3 separate regions of the Homo sapiens genome follow, and regions 1 and 2 are each linked to region 3. The links are contacts of gene promoters, found by promoter capture Hi-C in human tissues and cell types (Jung and others, 2019). All regions are on one chromosome and are shown on one strand. Each heading gives the region's core, a stretch centred on a gene start or on the middle of the fragment in contact. The rest is flanking DNA. Distances are from core to core; before and after follow the strand shown.

Evidence for each region. The method cuts DNA at HindIII sites, captures the fragments that hold promoters and counts their contacts. A contact is called where the count stands out against the background at its distance.
Region 1: a contact is called between the fragment with the promoter of ARFRP1 here and the fragment with the promoter of SOX18 in region 3, in 1 of the 25 tissues and cell types used here (lymphoblastoid cells).
Region 2: a fragment that was not itself captured here is called in contact with the fragment with the promoter of SOX18 in region 3 in 1 of the 25 tissues and cell types used here (lymphoblastoid cells).

The regions. Positions count from the first base shown.
Region 1 is chr20:63,705,592-63,709,538 of GRCh38, forward strand. It overlaps ARFRP1 (ARF related protein 1), which reads right to left and starts at 2,385. Exons shown (of 8, transcript NM_001267547.3): 1 at 2,276-2,385; 2 at 1,408-1,506; 3 at 1,060-1,147; 4 at 766-848. The coding sequence starts at 1,500. It overlaps ZGPAT (zinc finger CCCH-type and G-patch domain containing), which reads left to right and starts at 2,448. Exons shown (of 7, transcript NM_181485.3): 1 at 2,448-2,527; 2 at 2,962-3,573. The coding sequence starts at 2,990. RefSeq lists enhancers at 1,451-1,510, 2,373-3,333 and silencers at 1,661-1,710, 1,801-2,040, 2,461-2,520, 2,561-2,720. The HindIII fragment of the contact is 11,218 bases long and covers 1,836-3,947 here.
Region 2 is chr20:63,774,156-63,778,234 of GRCh38, forward strand. ZBTB46 (zinc finger and BTB domain containing 46) reads right to left here. Exons shown (of 5, transcript NM_001369741.1): 3 at 1,523-1,807. Among named protein-coding and RNA genes, the nearest start is that of ZBTB46-AS1, 32 kb to the right of the region's middle. RefSeq lists an enhancer at 3,765-4,079. The HindIII fragment of the contact is 8,553 bases long and covers 1-4,079 here.
Region 3 is chr20:64,048,082-64,052,211 of GRCh38, forward strand. SOX18 (SRY-box transcription factor 18) reads right to left here and starts at 1,558. Exons shown (of 2, transcript NM_018419.3): 1 at 1,078-1,558; 2 at 1-881. The coding sequence starts at 1,435. The coding sequence ends at 85. RefSeq lists a silencer at 1,248-1,297, an enhancer at 1,429-2,110 and promoters at 1,435-2,543, 1,438-2,335, 1,438-1,698. The HindIII fragment of the contact is 20,169 bases long and covers 1-4,130 here.

The DNA of each region.
Region 1 (3,947 bases), core at 1,135-3,634, 340 kb before region 3:
GTGATCATGGAAGAACAAATGTTAAGCTAGAACTGAAGGAACCTCATCAGGGGAGAGGCAGCCATCCTGCCGTCCCCACATCTGGTCTTTGCCATTTCTGTGTCCTGTGGTGGTCAGCAGCAAGGTCTCTGAGCCGAAAGGAGGCACTCACTTTGGAGGAGTGCAGGGTCCCCAGGTCCCCACACTTTGTCTTGTCCTGACTGAGAAAGAAACAGACTGCCCTGACCTCTCTGACTTGGCCAGCGAGGTTGCCCTTAGGCTCAAACCCAAGCCAGGGTTTGAACATTCCCAGACACTTGTAAGATGTTTAGGTTGTTAACATAATGTTCAGGTTTCAAAACATTGAAAGAAACTAGCCCCAGCCCTGAACCCAGATCCCCCCCGGCTTCAGGCATGACCAGTGAACACGCCCTTCTCTCACTGGTCACCTGAGGATGCCGCACTCTGTCAACAGGTTCCCCTAATACATGCTCTGATCTGATCGCCTTGGCATTTAGTGATTCTTTCCCTGGAATTCTCCACTGGCCCCATCGCAGGGAACTCCCAAGTGGGAAACTCCCCTACCACCACTTTTGGGGCAACTTCAGCTAAGGGTTCAGCTGGGACAAAACAGGGAGCCACTCGGGAACCTGGGACAGGACCAGAGAGAAAACCCGAGGGACAGAGTGGGTAAGGAAAACTGCTGAGGAAGGGCCCAAAGGGCACTCTGGAAAGAAGTGGCACTGGAGGGCTGGGGTGGGGGTGGTCCTGGCCAGGGAGTCTTACCTTGTCCCACAAAGACTGCAGCTCTTCCTGCCCTCCTAAGTCCCAGAACATGAGCCGAGCCTTTCCCACATCCACAGTGCCGACTGGGGAGAGGAGGAAACAGGCAAGGCTCATGACCTTGGTCCTCGACACACCCAGTCCCAGCTCTCCCAGGGGATGGGGCAAACCATGCTGGTGCCACTCAAATGAGACTTGAGAGGGGCCCGACAGGGCTGTGGCCACGGGCCAGCTGGACTGTGAATATCACGGCATCCTCAAGGCCCCAAACCCACAGCCTGCTATTGAGACCCTTACTGTTTAGGCCCACGGTGGTGGTGATTTTGGATAGACTCATCCCCTTGTAGTTCTTGTTAAATCGGGTTTTCGACTGCTCCAGGAAGGTCTGAGGAGAGAGGCAGAGGCGAAACACATCAAGGAGGGGCTATACTGGCTTCCAAATATCCTTACTCAGGTCTGTTCTTTAAAAGACAGAAACAGAAACAGAGCAACACTCTGCTCTTCAGGAGGCTGGTGGTGACTATCCTGCCGTCTCAGGTGAAATTTGGCTTCCGTCTGGGTAGTGAACGTGCAGCTGACAGCACAAAACCGAAGGGGGCGCCGCCAGGCCGTGGGAAAGGTGCGCGCAAGGGCGTGGGCACTCACCGTCTTCCCAGCATTGTCCAGGCCCAGGATCAGGATGCAGTACTCGTCCTTCTGAAACATGTACTTGTACAAGCCCGACAGCAGCGTGTACATCCTGCCCTGGGCACCCCAACATAGGTCAGTGTGCAGCCAGAAAGCACCTCCCCTCCCCCGGGCTTCTCCACGGTGGTCAGTGGCGCCCCACGTCCAGCCGACCGCTCAGGACGAGAGCCTGGGGGCCATTCCCGACTCCTCGTCCCTCTCCCACCCCGTCCCTCTGTAACTTCTCCCAGGTCAGCCGCCACTGTGTCCTGCTCACAGCAATGACTGCGACCTCTCCGCATACACATCGGTTCCGGCCCCTCCCCTGCTCGCGGGACTACCCAGCCGGGTGTTCACAGTGAGCTCAGCCGCGCTCCCGCCCTCCCCCGAGGCTTCGCTCCCACGCTTCACGCGCGCGGAACGGGGAACACACTCGCTGCAGCCCCGCCTGGGCCACGGCACCCTCGAGCGCCAGCCCCGCGCCCCACCCGGGAGCAGCGAGCCACCGGCGCGCTCCCCAGGAGCCCCTGCAGGCGCCGGGTAGGGACGCCCCATCACCCCATTTCTTAAAACGGGGACGGCCCTGGGGGGAGCGGACTACAGGGCGGGTGAGCAGCGGCGCGGCTGCTCCTGGAGTGCACCTGGAGGCGGCGCGCGGCTGGCAGGGAACGACTGCGAAGGAAGAACCTGGGTCGCGGCCCCCGGCTACGTCCGCCCCAAGCCGCCGCCGCCAGGTCTGAGGCTCCCCGACAAGCAGCCAAAGCTGGCTCCTGTCACACCCGCGTCCCACCTCGAGTCCTGGGCCGCCCCTCGGGCCTCGCGCCTCACCGCACAGCCTGCGGCCTACCTGCGTCCGCCGCGCCCTCGGAGCCGCTGCTGCTGACCCCCGCTGACCTCCGCTGACCCCGCGCTAACCCCGCGCGGCGCCTGACGGGACGCGGGCCGGCCTCAGGGAATGAGCTGAACCGCGTCCCAGCGGCCTCCGCGCTCCGCTTCCCGGCTGCCCCCGCGCGCCAAGCACTTCCGGAAGCGGCGGCGCTCGGGAGGAAGTGCCGATCGGCTGCTGGGGCGAAAAGGGGGCGCCGGGCCGCTCTAGCCGGTGAGGCCGGCGGGCTCTCTGTGGCTGCGGCTGGGAAACCGCGCGGAGGAGGTGCCCGGCCGGGGACCAGGTGGCCGCGGTTTGCGGGGACGCGGCCCTGGCCAGACAGAAGAGACGCCGGGCGGGGGGGCGCGGCCGGCCTGGAAGGCGGCGGGCGCGGCGGGTGGGCTCGGCGGAGGGTGAGGCGGCGGGGCGCCCCGCGGGGAAGGGGCTCCGGAGTGACGCGGGACCCGGCTAGCGGCGAGCCCACGGCGGCTCGGAAGGGAAGCGCGGAGCCTGAGCGGGGGTACCCGGGCTGCGACCTCTGCGCTGGGAGCTGTGCCTCTGAGCCGGTGTCTCCCCGAGGGAAAGGGGACGTGCCCGTGCCCGTGCCCGCCCTCAGGCTGTGGGGTCGGTCCCGAGACGCGGGGCTCAGCTGGCTTCTCTTCTTGCAGCCCTGGTCCAGCGCCTCCCTCTCTCAGCATGGACGAGGAGAGCCTGGAGTCGGCCTTGCAGACCTACCGTGCGCAGCTGCAGCAGGTGGAGCTGGCCTTGGGCGCCGGCCTGGATTCGTCTGAGCAGGCTGACCTGCGCCAGCTGCAGGGGGACCTGAAGGAGCTCATCGAGCTCACCGAGGCCAGCCTGGTGTCTGTCAGGAAGAGCAGCTTGTTGGCCGCGCTGGACGAAGAGCGCCCGGGCCGCCAGGAAGATGCTGAGTACCAGGCTTTCCGGGAGGCCATCACTGAGGCGGTGGAGGCACCAGCAGCGGCCCGTGGGTCCGGATCAGAGACCGTTCCTAAAGCAGAGGCGGGGCCAGAATCTGCGGCAGGTGGGCAGGAGGAGGAAGAGGGAGAGGACGAGGAAGAGCTGAGTGGGACAAAGGTGAGCGCGCCCTACTACAGCTCCTGGGGCACTCTGGAGTATCACAACGCCATGGTGGTGGGAACGGAAGAGGCGGAGGATGGCTCGGCGGGTGTCCGTGTGCTTTACCTGTACCCCACTCACAAGTCTCTGAAGCCGTGCCCGTTCTTCCTGGAGGGAAAGTGCCGCTTTAAGGAGAACTGCAGGTAAAGCCCTTTGTTGTCAGATGCCAACCTTAGGGGCGTAAGGGGCACGCACACAGGGTCGGGTCAGGATCGGCCCTCCCTTTGCTTTGCAGTTTTGTCTCAGCTTCCTGGGGCAGGCGTGCTTTGACAGCTGTGTCTGTGTTCAGGCGTCTACGTCTTCCTTCTGGGGTGAATCAAGAAGCATGGAAGGAGGCCAGGCGCGGTGGCTCACGCCTGTAATCCCAGCACTTTAGGAAGCCGAGGCGGGCAGATCACCTGAGGTCAGGAGTTCAAGACCACGCTGGTCAACATGGTGAAACCCCATCTCCTTAAAAACACAAAAATGAACCGGTCGTGGTGGCGCGCACCTGTGGTCCTGGCTACTCAGGAGGCTG
Region 2 (4,079 bases), core at 1,247-3,746, 270 kb before region 3:
GCCCTGAGCCTCACTTTCAGGGCCAAGACCCTTCGACGGACACGGCTCCTCACTGAGTACACGGAATAAAGGGAAGGTGAACACCACTTTCCACATGTAGTCTTTATTACCCACAAACAGTTGGCATCAGTGCTCACACCAACGCGAAAATTCGAAAGAATATTTTAGTGCTTATGAAAACAAAGTTGTAAAAATATTGTTTTTTAGAGCAGCGTAAAGAAACAGAGAAACAGATATACTTCCCAAATCCCAGCATCAAGGACAGCTGGCACGTTTCCTTCCTTCACTTCCCTCAATACTCAGCAAACAATGTGTCCACACCACTCAGCACGCCTGGACCCCAGCCGCGGAGGTGGGGGCATCTCATGCCGGACTCGCTCCCTCCTCCCCTGGAGAGAAACGGGAGGCGCCTCACTCACTCTCAGCCGCATGCTGAGTGCCAGCTATGTGCTAGGTGCCAGCACCAGGCCTTGCCCGGGGGCCCACATGAGCGCGAGACCAGAAGGCAGCTGGCTGGGGGCTGGCTGCGGTGGGTTTTTTTTGTTTTTTTTTTTGTTTTTTTTTTTGAGACAGAGTCTCCCTCTGTCGCCCCGGCTGGAGTGCAGTGGCGCGATCTCGGCTCACTGCAAGCTCTGCCTGCCGGGTTCACGCCATTCTCCTGCCTCAGTCTCCCGAGTAGCTGGGACTACAGGCGCCCGCCACCACGCCCGGCTAATTTTTTGTATTTTTAGTAGAGACGGGGTTTCACCGTGTTGGCCAAGATGGTCTCGATCTCCTGACCTCGTGGTCTGCCCGCCTCAGCCTCCCAAAGTGCTGGGATTGCAGGCGTGAGCCACCGCGCCCGGCCCCTTTGTTTTTTTAAACTCCGAAAGCTGAATGCCCCCGTCTTGTCAGGAAGTCAGTCAGTCTGGGGTGAGCCCGACACGCAGCAGTGGCTGAACTTTTGGCCACATCTCGGCAGGCGCGTCGTCGTTTGGATTCAGCTGGGGACATTTACGTTTTAAAGACAACCTCCGACGCATCTTTAAAAGTCACACGCCACCAGCATCATCCAGCGAAGGCAACGCAAGGCGAGGCCCCCAAGTGCAATCGGCTCGCAGCGGCCGCCCCCATCTCCCTTGCGCGAAACGAGCCTCAGCACGAAGGCGACAGAGGGGCCGGCAGGGGGCGCCCGAGCCCGTCTCTGGAGCACAAAGACCCCCGGCCCCTGCGCGACCCGGACGAGCTCGCATTCAGCCAACGACTCCTGTGAGAAACATTCCAGCAAGCACTCGGCTGCTCCCCTGCCCGCCGCGCTCACAACCGCGTCCATTCCCTCCTCACTCTAAAGCCAGCCCCCCGTGCACCTGAGAGGCCAGTCCAGGCTGTGACGCCGCATCCTCACCTCCCGCAACAGGGAGGTCAGCAGGCGGCCGAGCAGCAGGGACAGACCCTCAGCCTCATCTCATCTTGGCCCGGGACCTGCAACCCTCAGCCTTCAAAACCACACCAAAGCCAAGCGGCCCCCAGGGCCTGCACTTACGGGACAGCGAGTGGGCCCCTCTGGGCAGGTACTCGAACAGCAGGGAGCCGTCATCCCCCAGCACGTCGGCCTTCAGCGACAGCAGGCTGTTCTTACTCATGAGCGCCGCGCGCAGGTTGGCCACCGCGGTGGCCTGATGCAGGGCGTCGTCCTTCTCTGGGGTGAGGGGAGGGCCCAGATAGCTGGCTTCTCCTCCCAGGAGACCCTCCTCCACCTGTGCATAGAGCTCGGCCCTCTCTCCTCGGCTGTCGGAGCTGCTGGCTTCGGTGACGGACAGGTCCGCATCTGGGGACAGAGGGACACACGTCAGAAGACACGGGTCGTTCCCAGACTCTCCAAGTGGGACAGGCGACACATTTAGAAGGACAGCGACCAGCTTCTGCCTGAGCTACAGAGCAGCATCAAGTCCAGCCCACCCTGGGAGCCGGGCACCTGCCCCAGCAATGCAGCAGCCTCGGCCCAGCCCGGCCTTTCCTGCCCACCCAGGTCCCATGGCTGCGGTGGAGTCTCAGCCAAGGCTTTGGAGGACGGCTCAACTCAGAACAACGGGGTTGCCCTCCCTGGACGAGGCGCTGCAGACCTGGTACCTGCTCTGCTCCAGGGCCGAGGGCCTGAGAGTCAGAGGCTCCTGGGGCGGCAGTATTTCCATCTCGCAAAGACGAGGAGAGGCTCAAAATGGATCAATGACGTTAGAGCTAAATCTATAAAATTCTTAGAAGAAAATCCGCATGATCTCAGATTTGGCAATAGGTTCTTAGATACAAAACCAAGCACAAGCAACAAAATAAATTGGACTCATCAAAATTAAATGTCTGTGCTTCAAAGGATACTACCAAGAAAGTGACGCCGGGTGCGGTGGCTCAAGCCTGTGATCCCAGCACTCTGGGAGGCCGAGGCGGGCGGATCATCTGAGGTCAGGAGTTCAAGGCCAGCCTGGCCAACATGGTGAAACCCCATCTCTACTAAAAATACAAAAATTAGCCGGGCGTGGTGGCACGTGCCTGTAATCCCAGCTACTCAGTAGGCTGCGGCAGGAGAATCGCTTGAACCCAGGAGGTGGAGGTTGCAATGAGCCGAGATCACACCACTGCACTCTAGCCTGGGCGACAGAACAACGCTCTGTCTCAAAAAAAAAAAAAAATTGCAACCTATATATCTGATAATAAAAAGGCAAATACTGTAACTCAATATAAAAATGGGCAAAAAATCTTACTAGACATTTGTCCAAAGAAGATGTATAAATGGCCAAGACGCACAGGAAGAGATGCTCAGCATCACCCATCACTAAGGAAACGCAAAACACAACACGATTCCACCACACAATACGGTTCCAGCACACGCCACGGTTCCACCACACGCCACGGTTCCACCACACGCCACGGTTCCAGCACACGCCACGGTTCCACCACACGCCACGGTTCCAGCACACGCCACGGTTCCACCACACGCCACGGTTCCAGCACACGCCACGGTTCCAGCACACACCCACTGGGATGGCTGGATATAAAAAGGCCAGGCACCGTGGCTCACGCTTCCAGTCCCAACATTTTGGGAGGCTAAGACCGGAAGATCTATTGAGAACAGGAGTTCAAGACCAGCCTGGGCAACACAGCAGGACAAAAAGTTAAAATAAAACAAAATTAGCTGAGTGTGGTGGGTTGTGCCTGTGGTCCTAGCTACTCAGGAGGCTGCGGCGGGAGGATCACTTGAGCCTGAGAGGTTGAGGCTGTGGTGAGCTGTGATCGAGCCACTGTACTCCAGTCTGGGTGACAGAGTGAGACCCTATCTCAAAAACAACAACAAAAAAGATCAGATAATATTGGCAAGGATGGGAAGAAATCAGAACCCTGGAACCTTGCTGGTAAGAGTGTAACATGGTGCCCTCCTGCGGAGCAGGTCGGCAGGTCCTCACAACATCAGGTACAGGAATCACCACGGGGCCCAGCAGTTCCACATGTACGCATGCAGATACCCACGAGAAATGAAGACACAAAAGCTCACAGAAAACCTCGTCCAGGACGCGCGTAGCACGTTATCCATAACAGCCAAAAGGTGGAACAGCCAACAAGTCCATCGATGGACGAATGGATAAACATAACAGGTCCATCCCCACAATGGAATATTATGTGGCCATGAAAAGGCATGAAGAACAGACACAGGCCACCACACAGAGGAGCCGTGAAAACATGCTCAGCGGACGAAGCCAGACACAGAACCACGCAGAGGAGCCTTGAAAACTGCTGAGTGAACAAAGCCAGACACAGAAGGCCACATGCCATTTCATTTCCATTAAATATCCAGAACAGGCAAATCAAGACAGAAAGTAGGTTTGTGGCTGCAAAAAGGGGCTGGGGAGGGGTCTCGGATGAGGGCTAAGTGGTGCAGGGTTTCCCTCTGAGCCGAGGAAAATGTTCTAAGGGGACTGTGCTGATGGCTACAGGATGCTGTGAATATACCATACCAAAAACCTCTGAACTGCAGACTTTAAATGGGTGAGTGGGGTGTGAATCATCTCTCAGTAAAGCTTCTATTTAACAACAACAACAAAAACAACAAA
Region 3 (4,130 bases), core at 308-2,807:
AGAGCAGAGCGGCAGCGACGCGGTCGGATCGGTCGCGGGGGCTGCGGGAGGAAGCGCTGCAGGGACCCGGGCGGCGCCGGCGGCCTAGCCGGAGATGCACGCGCTGTAATAGACCGCGCTGCTGGCGTCCGACAGCGCGGAGATCAGGCTGCTCTCCTCTGGGCAGGACATGGCGCGCGGGCCCAGTTTGGCCAGTGCCACGTGGTACGGGAGCCCGGGGGCGTCGGGCCGAGTCCGGCTGCAGTTGAGGTACTGGTCGAACTCGGTGAGGTCCACGTCGGCCCACAGATCGGCGGCGGGCCCCAGCGGCTCGGCGCTCTCCAGCGGCGGGGCCTCGGGCGGCGGCGACAGCGGGCCGGGGTACGGGCCGGGCGTGCCCAGGGTGCCGTAGTACAGGCCAGCGAGCGGCGCCGCGGGGGGCGCGGTCCTGAGCGCCTCCGCCAGGGGAGCCCCGTAGCAACCGCCGGGGTCCCGCGACAACTCGGTGGGCGCGTAGGGCGCGCGGAAGGGCCGCAGCGCGCAGTCCTCGGGCGCCGCGGGCGGTGGGAAGAAGGCAGCCTCGCCGGGCTCCAGGCCGTCCAGAGGCGAGCGCTCGGGCGTGGGCAGCCCCAGGCCGTCGAACTCGGCGCCCAGCGGGGGCAGCTCGCGGAAGGCGCGAGCCGAGCCAGACGCCGCGGGGAAAGGCTCGGGCGGTGGCTGCGGGGGCGCTAATCCCGGGAGCAGGAGGCCGGGCTCCAGCCGCCGGGCCTTGCGCGCCTGCTTCTTGCGGCGCGGCCGGTACTTGTAGTTGGGGTGGTCGCGCAAGTGCTGCACGCGCAGCCGTTCGGCTTCCTCCACGAAGGGCCGCTTCTCCGCCGCGTTCAGCTCCTTCCACGCTTTGCCTGCGGGCCGTGGGCGCCAGTGAGTGGAACGCCGTCGGGCGGGTGGGCGCCGAGCCCTCCGTGCGCCCGGGACGCCCCGCGAGGGTTTGGCGCAGCCCCCGCACCCCGCGGCCCGGGACCCCTGCCCCCCCCGCCCCACCCCGGCCCGAGCCCCCCCCGCCCTCTCCCCCTTCTCTGCCGCCCTCCCGCCGCTCACCCAGCATCTTGCTGAGCACCGCGTTGTGCAGGTCCGGGTTCTGCTGAGCCAGCCGCTTGCGCTCGTCCTTTGCCCACACCATGAAGGCGTTCATGGGCCGCCGGATGCGCGACTCGTCTGCCGCCTGGCGTTCCCCGCGGCCGGCCGGGCTGAGGCCATAGCGCCCCGGCTCGGGGCTGCGCGGGGGACTGCGCTGCGGGCTGGGCGGCGAGGCGGGCGCGGCGGGCGCGGCGAGGGCGGCGGGGCCGGCGGCGAGGCCGCGCGTGTCAGCGGCGGCCCCGTGTCCCGGGGCCCATGCACAGTCGCGGCGGGCGGGCGGGTCGTCCTGTGCGCCGTAGCCGGGCGGCGATCTCTGCATTCCAGCTGGGCGCGGCCTGGGCGGAACGGAGCGCGGGAGCGCGGCGGGCGGGCGGCGGGCACTGGGGAGCCGGGCGCAAGGGCAGGCCAGGCCGGGAGGGCGGATGGCGGTGGGGACGGCGGTGGCCTCGGGCCGGGCGGGCGCCCAGATATAGCGGCTCAGGGCCAATCGGCGGCGGGGCGGGCGGGCGGGGGCGGGTCGGGGCCGCCTCCTCCCCGGGGGCTCCCTTTCTTCTCAGGCCGGGCGGGATTCCGCTGAGGCCTCCCCCGCGCACAGCCCCCCCACCTCCCCCGCGACCTCTCAGAAGGAGAGACCCCCCGGGTGGGAAAGAAAGGGCTGCTGATGAGGGCCGGTGCTGCCAGACTTTCGGAGGCGAGCTGCCACCCACCCACGGAGTCGGACCCCCGGGCAGTAACTGGGGGAGGGCGGCAGTGTCCCGCTGGTTGCCGTTCCCCGCCCCCCGCTGGGAGGCTCCATGGGGAGGAGAGGGCCCTTTTTCACACCAAGTTCTGGGGAGGCTGCCTTCCCAACAGCCGGTAAGTCCTTCCTGGAGTGCAGCGCCTTCAGAAAAGGCCCCGTCTTTGGGGAGGCGCTCTGAGTCCCCAGGGGCGCCCATGCTGGAAACTCTACACCCATGTGTAACCGTCAGCACCAGGGACTTTGAGTGCCTTTATGGGACAAGATGGTCTTCTGTCCTCACTCCCAAACCAACTCTGGCACAAGGCAAAGCTGACACAGGGAGGGAGAGAGCAGAGGCCCTGGACGGAGCCCACAAAGAGAAGGGGGAGCAGGGACGCAGAGGCTGTGGCGTCCTCCCTGCCCCCCAAGGGCCCTTGGGGAAGGGGCTGGGACCCTCAGTGGCTTGCTGGCTCCCCTGCCCAGCCCAGGCCACCGCTGCAGCAAGAGGCAGGGCCTACCTGGGTCCTTCCCACTGGCCCCTCCCTGGACCCTCTGACCTGGGCGGGGGCGGGTTCCGGAGGAGCGTCCAGCTTCCTGAATTTTCACTGTCCCCTTCCTACTCCATCAGGAGGGGATCTGGGCTCCAGAGCTGAGGGTCTCCCTCTGGAGGTCCTCCCCTCCCACTGCCACGCATGGTTCTACTGGAGAAGGGTTGGGTGTCCCCAGCAGCCCTCCAGGCAGGGTCAGAATCTCGCCACCTCGCGGCACATCTCCTCATAGCCTGGAGGCTCCCCAGCTCCCCCCGCCACACTATGCCGGGAGCCCCATGGGTAGAGGCCACAGGTCTTGTGACCCTGAGCCTGTGTGGCCAGAAGCTCTTGGTTCTCTGTCCCTGCCAGCCTCGCTAGGCCACATCCAGCCTGTGTTATGAATGGGGTGGGCCCCACGTGGGCCTTGCAGTGCCCCTTAGAGGCTGTTCCTGAACTGTCCCCAGGGGCACTCCTGCCCTGAGGCCAGCACCCCCACAGGGGCACTCCCACCGAGGGCTGTCGCGGTCGGTGTCCAGCCCTCCCCAAAGCCCCACATCACAGTCTGTCTCGACGCCCATCGTCCCAGCATACGGGGCTGGGTCTCCCAGTCTGGTCTCCAGATCTCCCGTCCCTCCAGTTTGCCCCACGGGCCTAGCACCTCGTTCACAGACACTGAGCCAGTGCTGGCTAATGGGGGGCCCGTGGGGCACCAGGAGGTGCGGCCCCTGGCTTTTCTGGGGAGGCAGGCAGGGTTGTGGCCACAGGGATGGAGGGGCTCACAGGCCTCTGCCGGATGCTGCTAGTCCTCCTTTAATCTCAGTATGGGTGGCTGGACCCTTGGCCGAGTCTCAGTGTGGGTGGGCCTCCTGGGCAGCTGGCAGGAGGGTGCAGGGGGGGTGGGGAGCCGTGCGAAGACCCCAAAGGGCTACCACTTGGCGGAAGCTCTCTCTACTCACAACCTTAGGGTTGCAGTCAGGGGTCACCAGGGCCTGGCTCAGCCTGGGCAGTGGCTGGTCACTGCGGCCTGGGAAAGAGGTCCTCGGGGTCCTCTGCAGTAGCCCTCACACGTGGGGAAGGATTTGCAGTTCCCTGGGGGCCCTGCTTGGTCCTCTGCCACCCCCGAGAGCCCAGAGTCACTGGAGCTGCTCTAAACATAGTGGCAGGCAGTGTCCGGCATGACCTCATCGCCTCCACGTCCCCCACAACACCCACCAGCAGCCGCCTTGCCTGGCGCCAGCCAGTGACCCACCCTCTTGGCTGGGCTGTGGACTCAGGTGTCCGGCTGTCATGTCCTGTGAGTCGGGGCTGGGCGGGGAGCCTCCTGAGGTGCTCCTCTCCCTCTGCGTGGCAGGGAGGAGGCTGGCAGCCCTGGCCCAGTGTCCAGATGGGACAAAGTGGGGGTAGGGACCACAGCCAGGGTGGCGTGATCTGGAGCCGCAGGGCTGGGGGGACTTGCCAGGGCTGTAGAGGGGATGGTGTGGGTGTGGCCAGCTGTGCTGAGGGAGGGGCATCCGATGTGTGTCTGTGCATCTGTGTGTGGCCTGTGTCTGTCTGTCTGCCTGGGTGTGGGGTGAGGGGGACTCTAGTGCTGGAGGCTGCCCAGGGCCTTGAGAGCCAGGCAAGCTGGACGTTCCCAGGAAGAGATGAGGACCCATAATAGGTCCAGGACCAGGGGTCCTGCTCCGTGAAGTTTGGAGGGTCCCCAAGGCTTCTCTGGCCACTGAGCTTGGGCCCCAGCATTCTCCAAAAGAGGGCAGGCAGTTCAT